Regions from separate parts of the Homo sapiens genome. Here all the other regions are linked to region 3. Evidence: promoter capture Hi-C in human tissues and cell types (Jung and others, 2019). All regions are on one chromosome and are shown on one strand. Each heading gives the region's core, a stretch centred on a gene start or on the middle of the fragment in contact. The rest is flanking DNA. Distances are from core to core; before and after follow the strand shown. Region 1 overlaps TEAD1 (TEA domain transcription factor 1). Region 2 overlaps SBF2 (SET binding factor 2). Region 3 holds the start of ZBED5 (zinc finger BED-type containing 5).

What was found. Contacts are between HindIII fragments. The study calls those that stand out against the background at their distance.
Region 1: a contact is called between a fragment that was not itself captured here and the fragment with the promoter of ZBED5 in region 3, in 2 of the 25 tissues and cell types used here (bladder and psoas muscle).
Region 2: a contact is called between a fragment that was not itself captured here and the fragment with the promoter of ZBED5 in region 3, in 1 of the 25 tissues and cell types used here (hippocampus).

The regions. Positions count from the first base shown.
Region 1 is chr11:12,690,638-12,695,423 of GRCh38, reverse strand. The region is part of intron 2 of TEAD1 (TEA domain transcription factor 1); the gene reads right to left. Among named protein-coding and RNA genes, the nearest start is that of TEAD1, 19 kb to the right of the region's middle. RefSeq lists an enhancer at 817-2,016. The HindIII fragment of the contact is 5,849 bases long and covers 1-4,786 here.
Region 2 is chr11:9,853,695-9,858,252 of GRCh38, reverse strand. It overlaps SBF2 (SET binding factor 2), which reads left to right. Exons shown (of 40, transcript NM_030962.4): 18 at 1-27; 19 at 1,533-1,795; 20 at 4,541-4,558. All of the region lies in intron 1 of LOC101928008 (a long non-coding RNA gene), which reads right to left. Among named protein-coding and RNA genes, the nearest start is that of LINC02709, 96 kb to the right of the region's middle. RefSeq lists an enhancer at 2,346-2,445. The HindIII fragment of the contact is 9,218 bases long and covers 1-4,558 here.
Region 3 is chr11:10,855,874-10,860,063 of GRCh38, reverse strand. It overlaps ZBED5 (zinc finger BED-type containing 5), which reads left to right and starts at 2,011. Exons shown (of 3, transcript NM_001143667.2): 1 at 2,011-2,202; 2 at 3,807-3,920. It overlaps ZBED5-AS1 (ZBED5 antisense RNA 1), which reads right to left and starts at 1,847. Exons shown (of 3, transcript NR_034137.1): 1 at 1,698-1,847. RefSeq lists enhancers at 539-1,174, 1,576-1,665, 1,175-1,812, 1,966-2,345. The HindIII fragment of the contact is 25,171 bases long and covers 1-4,190 here.

The DNA.
Region 1 (4,786 bases), core at 1,009-3,508, 1.8 Mb before region 3:
AATAACTGGATTTGTACCTCTCTTAACATAAGGAAAAATCTCCTCCAAGTTTAGACAGTGACTATTTACATGTTAATGAGAGTAATATATTTTCACAGTGATTTCCAAAGAAACTCACCTAAGACTAAGGAGTTTTTGTACCAGCCTGAAATCTGGAGAACCACAGCCAGAAATTATGACTCTCAGTCAAGCCTCTAAAATCAAAATGAGCCCGACTTTCTCAACAGCTTATCAGAGCCTTTTAGTGAGGCCTGAAGTTGAACAGAAAATTACCCAAACACAAAATACAAACGACAAGTAAGAACGAAGTGGCCCTCGCCAGCCTGGCTGTGCGCTGAATTAGCCACACTTGATTAAAAAGCCAGGCAAACTTTTGCATTTGCTTTTATTTTATTCTTTACAAAGGCTGAAATAGAATTTGACCTTTCTGAGCTATTGCCAGCTATGAATTGGAAACAAGCTCAATTTAAAAGGTAGCATCAATATCTAACTGCTCATCATCTCAAATTTTTTTCCATCTTCCTCAGTGTCTTTTCACAGGGTTTGTCTACCCATGCTATTTTTAGACTTCTATCAGAACTTCCAATGACTCCATATAAACCTACAGTAGGGGGGAGAAGGGTCTCATTTCAGTCCCATTTTCTCAAATCCCACGCTAGCTAACACCAATTAGCGTAGAAAAAGAAGGTAAGAGTTGGTAAATGAAAATGAGTCACACTCAATTTTAATTTTTCTCAAGATTGAAAAAGCTCATAAATTCACAAGTAAAGCACAAAGCAACAGTGAGTCCCAACTTCACACAGAAACACCAACCCAACTCTGCTCTGACTTGGGTACGTACACAAAGTGGGCACTGCTCATAAAGGAGAAAAATAAATACGAGTCACAGCAGACCCAACATTGGGAGACAACTTCGTGTTTCTCCCTTACTCTTTAAAATATTTAATAAAACAGTTATAAAACTGATTCTGAAGTCAGGAAGACTGGCGTGAAACACTGCAAAAGGAAAAAAAAAAAAAGAGGACCCTGTATATAAGGAAGTAAACTGCAAGTAAAAGCAAGAGACAGGCCAGAGCTTGGCAGGCTGGCGAGTGTGTTAGTTTGTTCTCTCGTCTCTCTCCCCTCTCTCTCTTTTTTCTCTCCTTTCTCTCAAGTGAAGAACAAACAAAGAGTCGATACTTCAACTATACATATGGAATCCAGAGCTTTCTGCCTAGTGTCGGCTTGCATGTCCCCTAGTTTTAGGATTCACTGGAACACTAAAGCCCCTTGAAACATTTGCCATGTGTTTGCTGGGGCACTTCCCCGGACTCAGCCTGCCGCCTTTCCTGGCTGAGTTGTGCCGGGCCGCACAGCAGAGCAGGGTGTGCCAACGCAGCCTGACATTCAGATCAAGACCACAAATTATAAACAGTTTCAGTAAATTGACTCAAGTGCCTTTGTTCCTCAGACATACATCTTCCTACCGCTTACAAAGGCAGGCAGCAGAACCTAACCACCAACGCGGCTATAGCCAGGACTGGGAAAGGAAGTTATTGAAGCCTGGATTTCCTGCCTTTGCTTGTAGCCAAGAACTATGAGGCTTGTAGTGGTTTCAGGAACTGACTCATCTCATGATTCATGGATAAGATACTGCTTTTAATATGTTTCTGACCCTAAGATTCAGGAAAATCAAAACCAGTCTGAACCTATGCTTCACTCTTATTTGCAAATGAATATTCACAGCAAAATAAACAGGAGGACAACGGTTACCGAAACAATGAAAACATCATGCCAGTGGCAGGAAAAGTGGAATGCAGGCATCACATGGGAAGCCGTCATCAAAGCTTAATCCATGGGCTGCGACTTAACAGCGTTTCAACTTCCCAAAAGTGGATAACAGGTGGGATAAGGTTTATTTTTAGATGTCATTCCCCTAGATGTAAAAATAGATTTAGCACAGCAATATTTTAATTCAGGCCCATCTGGGGTTGTGACTCTAAATATCCAGGATGTACAGAAGCATGTAGCTTAAGATTTAACTGTTCCAGTTGCAAACCAGAGTTCAGAGTGAGCAGACCAATGATTAATGGGTAATAAAGGACTCGCATTGGAACTCATTCTCTTAAATCATCCTCTGCTAGAAGGCTGAAATTCTGTATTTCCACCCATGTGCTGACTGGCCTTCTCTGTCCTTTACTGTGCGCATGCACACACGCACACACACATGTGCACACAGCCCAGGACTTAAAAGCGAAGTTCTTTAAAAGTACTAAGCACCAGGGGCTCGCACCTCTGGCTGCTTTCCATGATGTTCCCTGTGGATTTATTCATCACAAAGAGGTCCCCACTAGAAAAAACTTTTAAAGCCTCCCTCATTCATGGATTGTTGGGTTCTCCCCACTATCCCCACACAAGACATTAAGCACAGGACCAGTAGGGGTGGTTTTCAAAAGCCTTTATGGGTTTCAACACAGCCCAGTTGCACAGAAGGAAAAGGGGGAAAAGAACACAAAAAACACAGGCTGTTCTGTGGGGTGGGGGTGGAGGAAGCAGTAAGAACAGTTGACCAGGCAAGGCCAAAGTGCAGGGGCCGGCTGGCAGGCGCTGCATGGCTGGGCTCCTCCAGCAGATTTACTGACATGACGTCAGTGGCTCCAGTCCAGCTTTTTCTTTGGTAGCTTTTACCACTTGCCTCCTGAAGCCTCCACTATGTTAGGGAGCCACAGGACCATAATGAAAATTCCCTTTGTGAAACTGAGTTTACCGCGGGGCACAGAAGCCTGCCTTGTGAATTACGGGGCTCTTCCCCCTACTCTCAGTGCCCACGGAGGAAAGCGGGGGCGGGGGGGAAATAAACCCCTACAATACTGTACTTTCCTTTAATACAGAGGAACCATTACATTAAGCTTGCGGCTTTAAAAAGAAAAAAAAGCCGGGGTGGTGGGTGAGGGGCATTAAATGTGTATCCAAAATTTCCCAGGCCAGGATGCTGGTTAACTTCTCAGTGGTGTGGAGAATGATGATAATTTCAGGACTATTCACTTGTGCCGTCATGAGACTGTGTTGGCTGCACTGTGAACGCATACAGCTTTGTTTCACCAACAAAACAAAAAAGTATTACTGAAGCTAAAACTGTAGGTCTGAATGGAAACTCTGAAGAAAGCATTAGAGCGTGTCTTTAAAATGAGCCCTGCTTTGCTGGGGGGACTGGGGGGTGGTTGGCCTAAGTGCATAGTCTATGATGCACCAACATGGGCATAAAACAATTTCCAAGAAGCAAAGACAGAAATTATAATACTAAAAATAAGTTTAATAGCAGACTTGTTAAATAAAAAACACTCATCTTAGACTTGCAGGCCTACTACTATAGGCCCGCAGCACTAAAACAATAGCTATGTTACAACTAGGGATCCAATGCATAAATCTATCTAAAACTACAAATCTTTAACTTATTTAAGCTTATAAAAATAATAGACTAGTGATAAATTCTTTAAATGACTAGGACATTAAATACATTCTATTTTAAACACTTTGGAGAAGAAGTACAAAGCTTAATTCAATCAATATTTATTGAAACAGATGAGTACAAACGTACCCAACAATACCATCGAAATACAGCTTGCAGCCTGAATGGCTCACGGTGGTAATAAGATAAGGAATCTCTCATGTCCTGGTTATGTATACAAGGAATAGAACAAACTATCAGGCAGACATGATGAAGGCAATGACTAAAGACTTCTGTGAAGCCTACATTAACATGAGCTTTGGCCTTCAGGAGGCAAGTCAAACCACAAACCATCCATGGTAATTCTTCAGTTTGGTCTTTTTCTTAAGGGAGGAAAGGACAAGATGACAAGCACAAGCATGAAAGTGGCAAATGAGAGCCAAAGAGGCCAGGCATGAGCAAGTGTGCAAGGAAAGCTTTTACCACGATTAGAGTTGACATGGCAGGCAGGATCCATTTCCAAAGGTGAGCAGATTATTCAACTGAAGGAGTGGGAGGAGAAAAAAAGCAGAGAACCTAGCACACACATCATAGCCTAGAAACTCCATTTCTCACTAAAAGGAACCCAAACTCTGCAGAAATGGTTCATTCTATCTCCCAGAATACACAAGAGGTTGGACAGCAAGGAAACTATAAAAGACTATTAATAGGGTCACATCAAAAGGCCACAGGAGCCAACTAAAGAAATTCCCACTGGCCAAAGATGAAACAATTTGAGCATCAGTAAGAGGAGGAACTGCAATGGACTGAAACGCATTCAATAATTTAAAATCAGTGATTGCCTAATGATATGCAAAACAAAAAAAAACTATCTTTCCTTTACAAACTATATGCTAGGTTAACCATATAGTTGCTAAGAGAAACCTTCTCCATAAAAAGAGGAATGGGTTGGGTGAGATGGCTCACGCCTGTAATCTCAGCAATTTGGGAAGCCGAGGTGAGCAGATCGCTTGAGCCCAGGAGTTTCAGACCAGCCTGAGTGATGAAACCCTGTCTCTACAAAAAACTAAAAAACTAGCCAGGCATGGTGGCGCACTGACAGTCCCAGCTATTTAGGAGGCTGAGGTCAGAGGATCACCTGAGCCCGGGAAGTCAAGGCTACGGCAAGCCGGGATCGCATCACTGCACTCTAGCTTGGGTGACACAGTGAGTGAGACCTGTCTCCAAAAACAGAACTAGAGTATCAGAGAACCACCAGTTTGCAAAAACTACATGAAATAATAGATACAGGCAGAGATCATCAATCAATGGCACTAACATCACAGAAAAAGTGACACTGTACATTGTGTGCCTCCTGGT
Region 2 (4,558 bases), core at 1,992-4,491, 1.0 Mb after region 3:
AATCATGCCCCGCATCTGAAGCAAAAGGTAAGAGAGAAGAAAAGAACTCTAATTGTGTGGGATTAGGATTCTGGCTTTAAGGAAAGCAGATGTTCCCAGGGCAAAAAAAACTCTAGCTACTTCCTGCCAGTGTATTTGGGTTTTATTTAGGGAGCCCTGTGATATCTTTCCTCTGTTGATTTCAGACATTATGTTTTTCCATAATAACTTCTTAATACAGTTCTTCAGCACTAGGATTGTTTTAATATACTTTAATAAATAAGAATTTCCTGGAAATGACTATAGGAAGTTGAATAGAAAGAACAAACCTAAAATAACAGGCATACTTCTCTATGCAACTAACTTCCCTGGAGGAATGTCAAATTAAAGTTAATTAACTCCAAAATAAATGTAAAATTTGGTAGTTGTATTAAAAAAATGCCAGTAATAAATCTAGGTCTTCTTCTAGGAATATTCTACATGTTTCTCTATGTTTTATCAGCATAAAATATTTTTATGAAAAATATCAAAAAAATTTAAAAATCAAGAAAATTGTTTTTAATTTGAAAGAGTAGTTTTAAATACTCTGAAAGTTTAAAACATCATTTACTAGCTCTCTGGTTTGGGGCAAGTCATGTTACTTCACTGTGCCTTATATCTTCACTGGTAAAATGGATATGATTATTATGAGATTTTAGTGTCTCATATATAAAGTGCATTGAAGAGTACATGGTATGCAGTAATAATAAGTGTTAGAAACTATCATCCTCATGAATTGAACTTAAAGCAGCCTTAACGGCTGATTATCATTCTACTCCAGAAATTTACTGGGCTTCGGGGGTGCTTTTGATCATTTTTTAAGCAGATGTAATGTTAATATTGACACATCTCGAAAGCATTCATAGAGCAAACACATGTCACTGCTTCTTTGTCAGCCATTCTAAAGAAGTCTATCCCGGAGCCAGCCCTAGGTTAGGTACAAGTGAGACCATAGACATACCAGCTCTTCACAAGCTATAAGGTGCTTTGCTGCTGCTTCCTGAGGTTTGTCACATAGTTCCACTCAAGGCCTGTTGGATCTGGGAAAGAAGACTAGGTTTTGTTTTGTGGTTGTTATGTTATGTTTATGTTTTCATTTTTGCTGATTTAAGCATTTAATAGAATAGTTATTTAAAACATCTATGTTAGGCCGGGCGCGGTTGCTCACGCCTGTAATCCCAGCACTTTGGGAGGCCGAGGCGGGCTGATCACAAGGTCAGGAGATCGAGACCATCCTGGCTAACATGGTGAAACCCCGTCTCTACTAAAAATACAAAAAATTAGCTGGGCGTGGTGGCAGGTGACTGTAGTCCCAGCTACTCGGGAGGCTGAGGCAGGAGAATGGCGTGAACCTGGGAGGCAGAGCTTGCAGTGAGCCAAGATCGTGCCACTGCACTCCAGCCTGGGTGACAGAGCGAGACTCCGTCTCAAAAAAAAAAAAAAAAAAAATCTATGTTTTTTAAGCTCACCTGAAGTGATGGTTCTCTTTTGGATTGTGTTGCTTTATTTTTTAGGATAAGCTTCCTGATGACCATTATCAGGAGAAGACAGCAATGGACCTGGCAGCTGAGCAACTACGCCTTTGGCCTACCCTGAGCAAGTCAACTCAGCAAGAGCTAGTGCAACATGAGGAAAGCACTGTCTTTAGTCAGGCCATTCACTTTGCAAACCTCATGGTGAACCTGCTAGTTCCACTCGACACAAGTAAAAACAAGCTCCTAAGAACATCAGCGCCAGGTGACTGGGAGAGCGGAAGCAACAGCATTGTCACAAACAGGTACCAAAATGTGAACACACAGACCCTCCTCCTACTCTTCTTGGGGCCAGTCTTGGCTTGACAGATAATATTAAACATTTTGAGCAAATACTGCTGTACATATTTCAAAAGTTAACCATTTTTCCTCACCTTTGGACTTGCTCAGCTTTTCTTTCTAAAAGATTCACTTCATCCTACTATTCTTAACCACTTCCCACACTTTCTTCTTTTTTATGACCTAATTTTTCCAAATGTCTCACCCATTACTGATCCAGCCCTTCAGTTACTGTCTGCCAAAGCAATTTACAGAAATCATTCCAAAGAAATTAGTGAGCACCTTCTTGCAAAAGTGGCTGTTTGTTTCTCAGCCCTCCTTTTCCTCAACCTTGTAGTCATACCCTCAACCATGCCTTCCTCTCTACCCTCCAGTAACTTCTCATACCACTGAAACTAAAACCCAGTGTTTACCATGGCCTGCAAGGCCTAACGGAATCCGTCCTCTGGCTACTGCTCTGACCCCCTATTTCCTATCACTCTTCTGTCAACCAAACTGGTCTCCCTGCTCATGCTAATCCTCAGACACTCCAAGCATATTCCTGCCTCACATCCTTTGTACTGGTATTTTCATTCTGGAATATTCTCACCTAAACAGGCCAAGAATCACTTCCTCACTTTATTTAGGTCTCTGCTCAAATGTTACTTGCCTCAAGAAGCCCTCCTGACTTCTGCATCTTAATAATACCTCTCCCTCTCCTACTTTGCATTGTCTTTCATGTCATTTTTTACAACCTGATTTATTTTCATATGTTTGCTTGTTATGTTTCCTTTGTCAGTTTTGTTCATTGCTGTATTCCTAGTGTCTTTGCATATAGTACTCAATAAATATTTGGTTGAACAGATGATTAAATGAGTGAATAAATGAACTTATCAACCCAACAGTAGTGAAATTCTATCCTTAGAGCTTCAGTGATGGGTGCCGCAACATCCTGGTAGTTCGAGCTCGCATAAATTCTTCTCCTCATGCTCCTTCAGGCAGCTCCTCTTCTCTTCCCATTCTCAATTCCTCTTCCAAGCTCTTCTTACTCTGTGGAAGACTCATCCACAAGCCTAAATCTCTGGCCCAAACCTTTTAATCTTGTTATCCTAGGTACTTCATTTTTGTCAGGGACACCTCAGAGTTTCTGGTCTTCCAGGCTAGACAACTTGGAATCAGCATTTCACACCATACAGTCAACTGCACAGATCTCTTACCCCCACCCATATAGAGTTTCTTGTTCATCCTCTGGTTATTTAATGGGAACAACATAGTCTGGCCTTTATCACTTCAAGCCCTAATTATAACAGTCTCTTAGTTGTTTCATTTTTTATTCTTCTTTCTACTGCCAAAAGGATCTTCCCGAAATGATGCTTTCCCATTCCTTCACTACTCATAATTCCACAAGACTCTGTTTCAATACAGGACCTATCTGTTTAATTTGTAAGATATTCCTTAGCTGTCACAGCTTTATCTCCATTCTCCATTGCCAGTGACGTTCATCTTCATTATAACAAGCAATAACTATATTTTACATTTCTTTTAAAGTTTTGGACCAGGCATGGGGCTGACTACCTTATAATCCCAGCACTTTGGGAGACCGAAGTGGGAGGATTGCTTGAGGCCAGGAATTCAAGACCAGCCTGGGCAACATAGTGAGACCCTATCTCTACAAAAAATAAAAATTAGTCAGGTGTGGTAGCACACACCTGTAGTCCTAGCCACTTGAGAGGCTGAGGCTGGAGAATCACTGCTGCAGGAGGATTTCTTGAGCCCAGGAGTTTGAGGTTACAGCTAGCATCGCTGCACTCTCGCCTGGGTGACAGAGTGAGACCCTGTCTCTAAAATAAATAAATAAATATAAACAAATAATAATCATTATAGATGACAGTGCTCTCTCAAAGTCTGCATGTTGATGGCCATAGTCTCTGCTTAGCTTTACTTTAACAATCTCTAACACTGATTCAGCTAATGTGGTTGGCTTTGCAGAAAAGAGAAGTTAATAGGAACAGACAAATGAGTCTTTTCCCAGAGTCTGATGGGTTGAACAGTAAGAGCTGAATAAGCAAGAAGGGCAGAGATTGAGCTTTCACATCTGTTCCATTTCAAATTTGTTCCCTTCTCTTGCATGATTTTATCATCTACAGAAGAATGCTGGCTTCAAAGTGGCCAAATGGGTTGCAGTTAACTCAGAGAGTGATAAATCCTGGCAAGAGAAGGGACAGTTTGGTCCTTACATATGGAAGAGTACGCTTGTTGCTGAGAAAAATTCTCTTACTTTGCCTACCAGGGAACATGTTCCTCAGTTGCCAAGTAGCCAAAGATAGCTGTATTACTTGTTCTCTATGTAATAATTAACTTGGGAGGACAGGTTGCTTTAGAAGGCCCAGGTAGTCCATAATAAATGAAAAAATCCTCTTTTGCTTTATTTTCTGTGGTTCCTGCATTCCTTTTGGGAGAGTGACTAAAGGTATTCCTTACAGAAACAAATCTGGGTCCAAACAAATTTCCTTACAGAAACTTACTGCCTGACAGTAGTTTCCAAATGTAGACTAGTAGAACATTGTGTTTTATCACCATCACTTACCAAGGAGCCATGGAGTTAAGTGAGCCTTCTACTTGAGTAGACATCACTTTGCTCATGTTTCTGTCGCTATGTAAATTGACTACTATATAGTAGTCATTTGTTGCATTTAAGTACTGACCATGATTTCTTTCCTTGACTGTCTTAGTATTGCAGGAAGTGTAGC
Region 3 (4,190 bases), core at 762-3,261:
TAGGGACACAGAGTCAAATCATATCAGGACCTAATTCCTAAACTTTAGATGTACTTATTTAAACACTATTCTGCCTAACAGTTTAATATTTTGGGTTTTCCCTCTTCATGAAGATGTAAACAAGATGTGTAAAGATTGGTTTGGGAGCCCATGGCAAGGACAGGAAAATCAAACACATGTTCTCACTCATAGGTGGGAATAGAACAATGAGAACACCTGGACACAGGGTGGGGAACATCACACACCAGGGCCTGTCGTGGGGTGGGGGGAGGGGGGAGGGATAGCCCTAGGAGATATACCTAATGTAAATGACGAGTTAACGAGTGCAGCACACCAACATGGCACATGTATACATATGTAACAAACCTGCAAGTTGTGCACCCTAGAACTTAAAGTATAATAATAAAAAAAATAAAAAATAAAAAAAGATTGGTTTGGGAGCACATATGTAAAAGGTTTTTCTAAAATATGAAACACGAAAATATATTATTCCAATATTATTCTGAAGCCAGACAACTCCCGCAATGACAAAATCCCTTGCTCTTCAAGCGCGACTGTACCCCCTTCCCAAAAACGATTTATGCATTTATGGTTAAAGTTCAAATGAAGCTGATTTAATAGAAATAATTTAAAAATAATAATGAGAATATATGGACAGCTTACTATAGGGTGAGATGATGTTGTAATTGACTTTAAAACATTTGGAACTAAATGTCAGTCCTAGGAAATTATGCACTCCTGTAAATTGTGCTATTAAGGGTTAGGTTTCTTTCAACACTTTAGATATTTGATCAGAAGCATATTTAAGAAAAACGAAAGCTGCCCTTGCTTTTGACCCCAAGTTGAGAATTTTCTATCATTGGTGCAGTGCCTGAAAATACGATCCAATCTTCATTTAGTCATTTGTACGGAGTCTGGAAAGGCTAAAACATTGCAAATAATAGGACCTACTCGTACTTTCCCCGCTTAAGAAGCGTATCTATTTCAAGGTGCCTATTTGGAAAAACAGACTCCAGGTCTCCACCACAGAACTTAACACAAAATGAAAGCACACAACCCGCAGCCTTTGGCTGTGGTGTTTTTGAAAACAAGGAAGGGCACAGAACCATGGCTTAAAATACCCGAAAGCTGCAGCCCACAAAAAGAGTATTTCAGGGCGGGTTGGCCGTTCCCTGCAGGCAAACGTTCGGTGCAGGCGGCCGGGCGTTCCTGCGGGGAGGGCGCCACTGTGATGCAAAGACATCAAGCGGACTTTCAGCTTGCCCGTGGACGCTGCGGTGCCGCTTTCCCTATCCAGTCCTGTTCCCGCGGCTCCCCAGCCTACCCCGGGCCGACCAAGAGGTCCGGCGGGGTCTGCGCCGCATCAGCGCCCGCTCGTCAGGCCTAGCCCTCCGCACAGCCAAGGCCGACCAGACCTCTAGACACTCCGTCGTCGGGTGTGGGGCGGAGAAGTAAAGGGCGAGTTTTCTTCCTAGATTCCAGTGGGAACCAAGAAAAGGAGTTGGCAGCTGTGTAAACTGGACCTGGGGTGCGGCCTCCGGGAACAAAAGAGGTGATAAATGCACAGCAGCCGAGGTTCTGCGTGCTCCTTTGGGGCCACTACGAATCCCCGTGAATCACCCCAGCCCGGGCAGAGGGCCAGAAATGATGAAAATGCAGATTCATGGCTTCCACTCCAGCCCTACAAGATCACCAACCGTATCTGGCAGTACCCAGGAATCTGCATTCTCGACAAGCGTCCGCGCCGACGGGGCTAGTGAAGTTTGAGAACAATTGCTTCCTACCCAGCCGCTCCGCTATCACCTAGGTAGCACGGCCGCTGCGGCTGAGGCTGTGACTGCGGCTGCGGCTGGGCCGCGCCTCAACCGAGCTTGGTCCTTTCCTTTGGTCCCGCCCCGCTGCTCAGCGCGGATTGGTGGCGGGACGCAAATCTGGCGCTGATTGGGCGGCGGCAGAGTCGCTCGTGAAGATTGTAGGGTTCGGGTGCTCTAGAGTGCTAAATTTATCTTCAGACCGGCGACCGCGCCAGCCGCGAATCGGATCTCTATGGAGATGGCCTAGGCGATATCCCTGAGCTGAGAGCATCACCCTGTCCCCGAATCCTTCTTTCCTCTCTGTTTTGTTTTTCATTCCCCTCCCTCTCTCCCCTCCCCCTCCAGTCCACGACGACTGGCTGTTGACCCTGTTCAGGCCTCGGTGAAGGTGAGAAGCAGAGCCGCCGCCGCGGCTAAGCGGTGCGCTCTGAAATGGCCGCTTCCTGGAACTGCCTAAGATGGCGGTCGCGGGCTCTGCTGTGGACCGCGGCGCTGCTGTGCAGCCCAGCCGCGGCAAAATCCGTTCTCTCCATCGCTGATGGAGATGAAATAGAGAGATGGTGTTGGGTGCTGAGACGTTTTCATGTGGTCGTTAGCGCAGGCGGCCGCCCGGGGACGCGAGAGAAGACCTGAGGCGAGGGTGGGCTGCGACTGGTAGGGAGCCCCCCAGTCGTGGCAATCTGTGGGCAGCGCGCACCTGTGACAGGGAGGAGCTGAGGGATAGTTGGCCCTGGCTGCACATCCAGGTGACCGTTTAAAAAAGCATTTAGGTGTTGGAAGGAGCATCTGTTCCCACCTTTTTGGCTGGCCTGCACTCAGATCCTGTCCTCCTGACCCTGAGGGTATTGTTCCCAGCCGGAACCGCCCGAAGATAGGGGAGAAAGGATTGTGATACTTGTCAGTTTAACCGGAAGGAGACTAAAGACGGAAGTTTTCCCCGCTCTTCAGGGAGTGGAAAGGAAACTTTACTCTCAAAGGAGTCCAGATTCTTTGTCCTCGAGAAATTCGGGGAAACACCTTCGAAGAGGTGGGGTTGAGGACCTTCTTTCTGAAAACAAAAGCTTCCTACTCTTCTGTGTCCTCTGGCAACGAGAGGGATCCTGATCTTTTACGTGAACCAGCAGCTCCACAGAGTTCTCCGTTGCAAAATCCAAAAGGAGACTGTGGAAGGAGAATCTGCTTTTTTGCTCCCAATAAGAAGCAGGGCTTTATGCTGTTGCTAGTATGAGACCCTCGACTTTCTGGCAGTTATAATCCATTGTTCATCCGTTTCGCTGCATAACCCAACTCCTAGTAACGAGATTTTTTAGTAGTTGGGGAATTAAAAGTATTCAGGAACACCCAAGTAATGGCTAGACACATGGGCTATGCAGTCAAACTTTTTGGGCTCTGAACTTGGTTTTTCACTTACAAGAGGTGTTAGCGAGATGTGTTAACCTGTGTCTGTTTATCTCTAAAGTGGGGTTATTAATAATCCTTGTGTCTTCATAGATGAGATAATCTATATGAGGGATTTAGCAGTAATTGGCATACAGTAAACAATCATCAGTCATTAGACATTGTTTACCTGAGGAGATTGGTCACTGGGGGGCTAAAAATGATTGTAGTGAAAGAACTGCTTCATGTAATAGTTCTATGTATAATTCCATTTTAGATTCAAGACCTAGTTTTAGAGACATTGATGAGGTTGTACTTTTAAAAATTAGGCTTAGTTTCAAGTTCTAGAAAGTGTGGTGGTGGTGTTGTTTTAACATGTTTCTATGAAGTCAGTAGGTGGGGGAACATCTCAAAGCATCTAAATTGCCAAGATATTGAACAGGATGAAAATGTTAGAATTTTTACTATGCTAGGCGTCTTCTCTTTCAGTCCAAGATCTGCATTGCAGTAAAGAATCATTTTCACTGCTTAGATCCAGAAAGAATAAACCCATCTTACGGGTTTATAGTTAGTTCTGCTTGTTACTGTATCTAATTTTAATTTTTCTCATTCTAGGCTTTTGGTTACTCCCCTTCCCACCCCATCCCTTAATTTTATTCTTTTGAAGAGTGCATTTCAAGCTGCCAAGGTGGAGAGAGGGATTACAGAAAGGAGAACACCTTATTTCAGGTATCTTATCCTCTACCCCTTAATAGGAGAACCATTTTGACTCAAGATCTAACATGAGAATACAAAACTTACTCTATAGCCAGGTTATAAAGTTTAAATCAAAAGTAGCTATATTTGGACAGACATAATTTGTATGCCTTGATTTATAGAGTTAATAGTATTCTTTAGCAATCCTTAGATTGCATTATCCTTTTAATTTTGATTTGTTTTATTATATGAGAAATAAACCTCTTAAATGAGAGTTTATTTTTTTTTTTTAGGTCCTGGTTA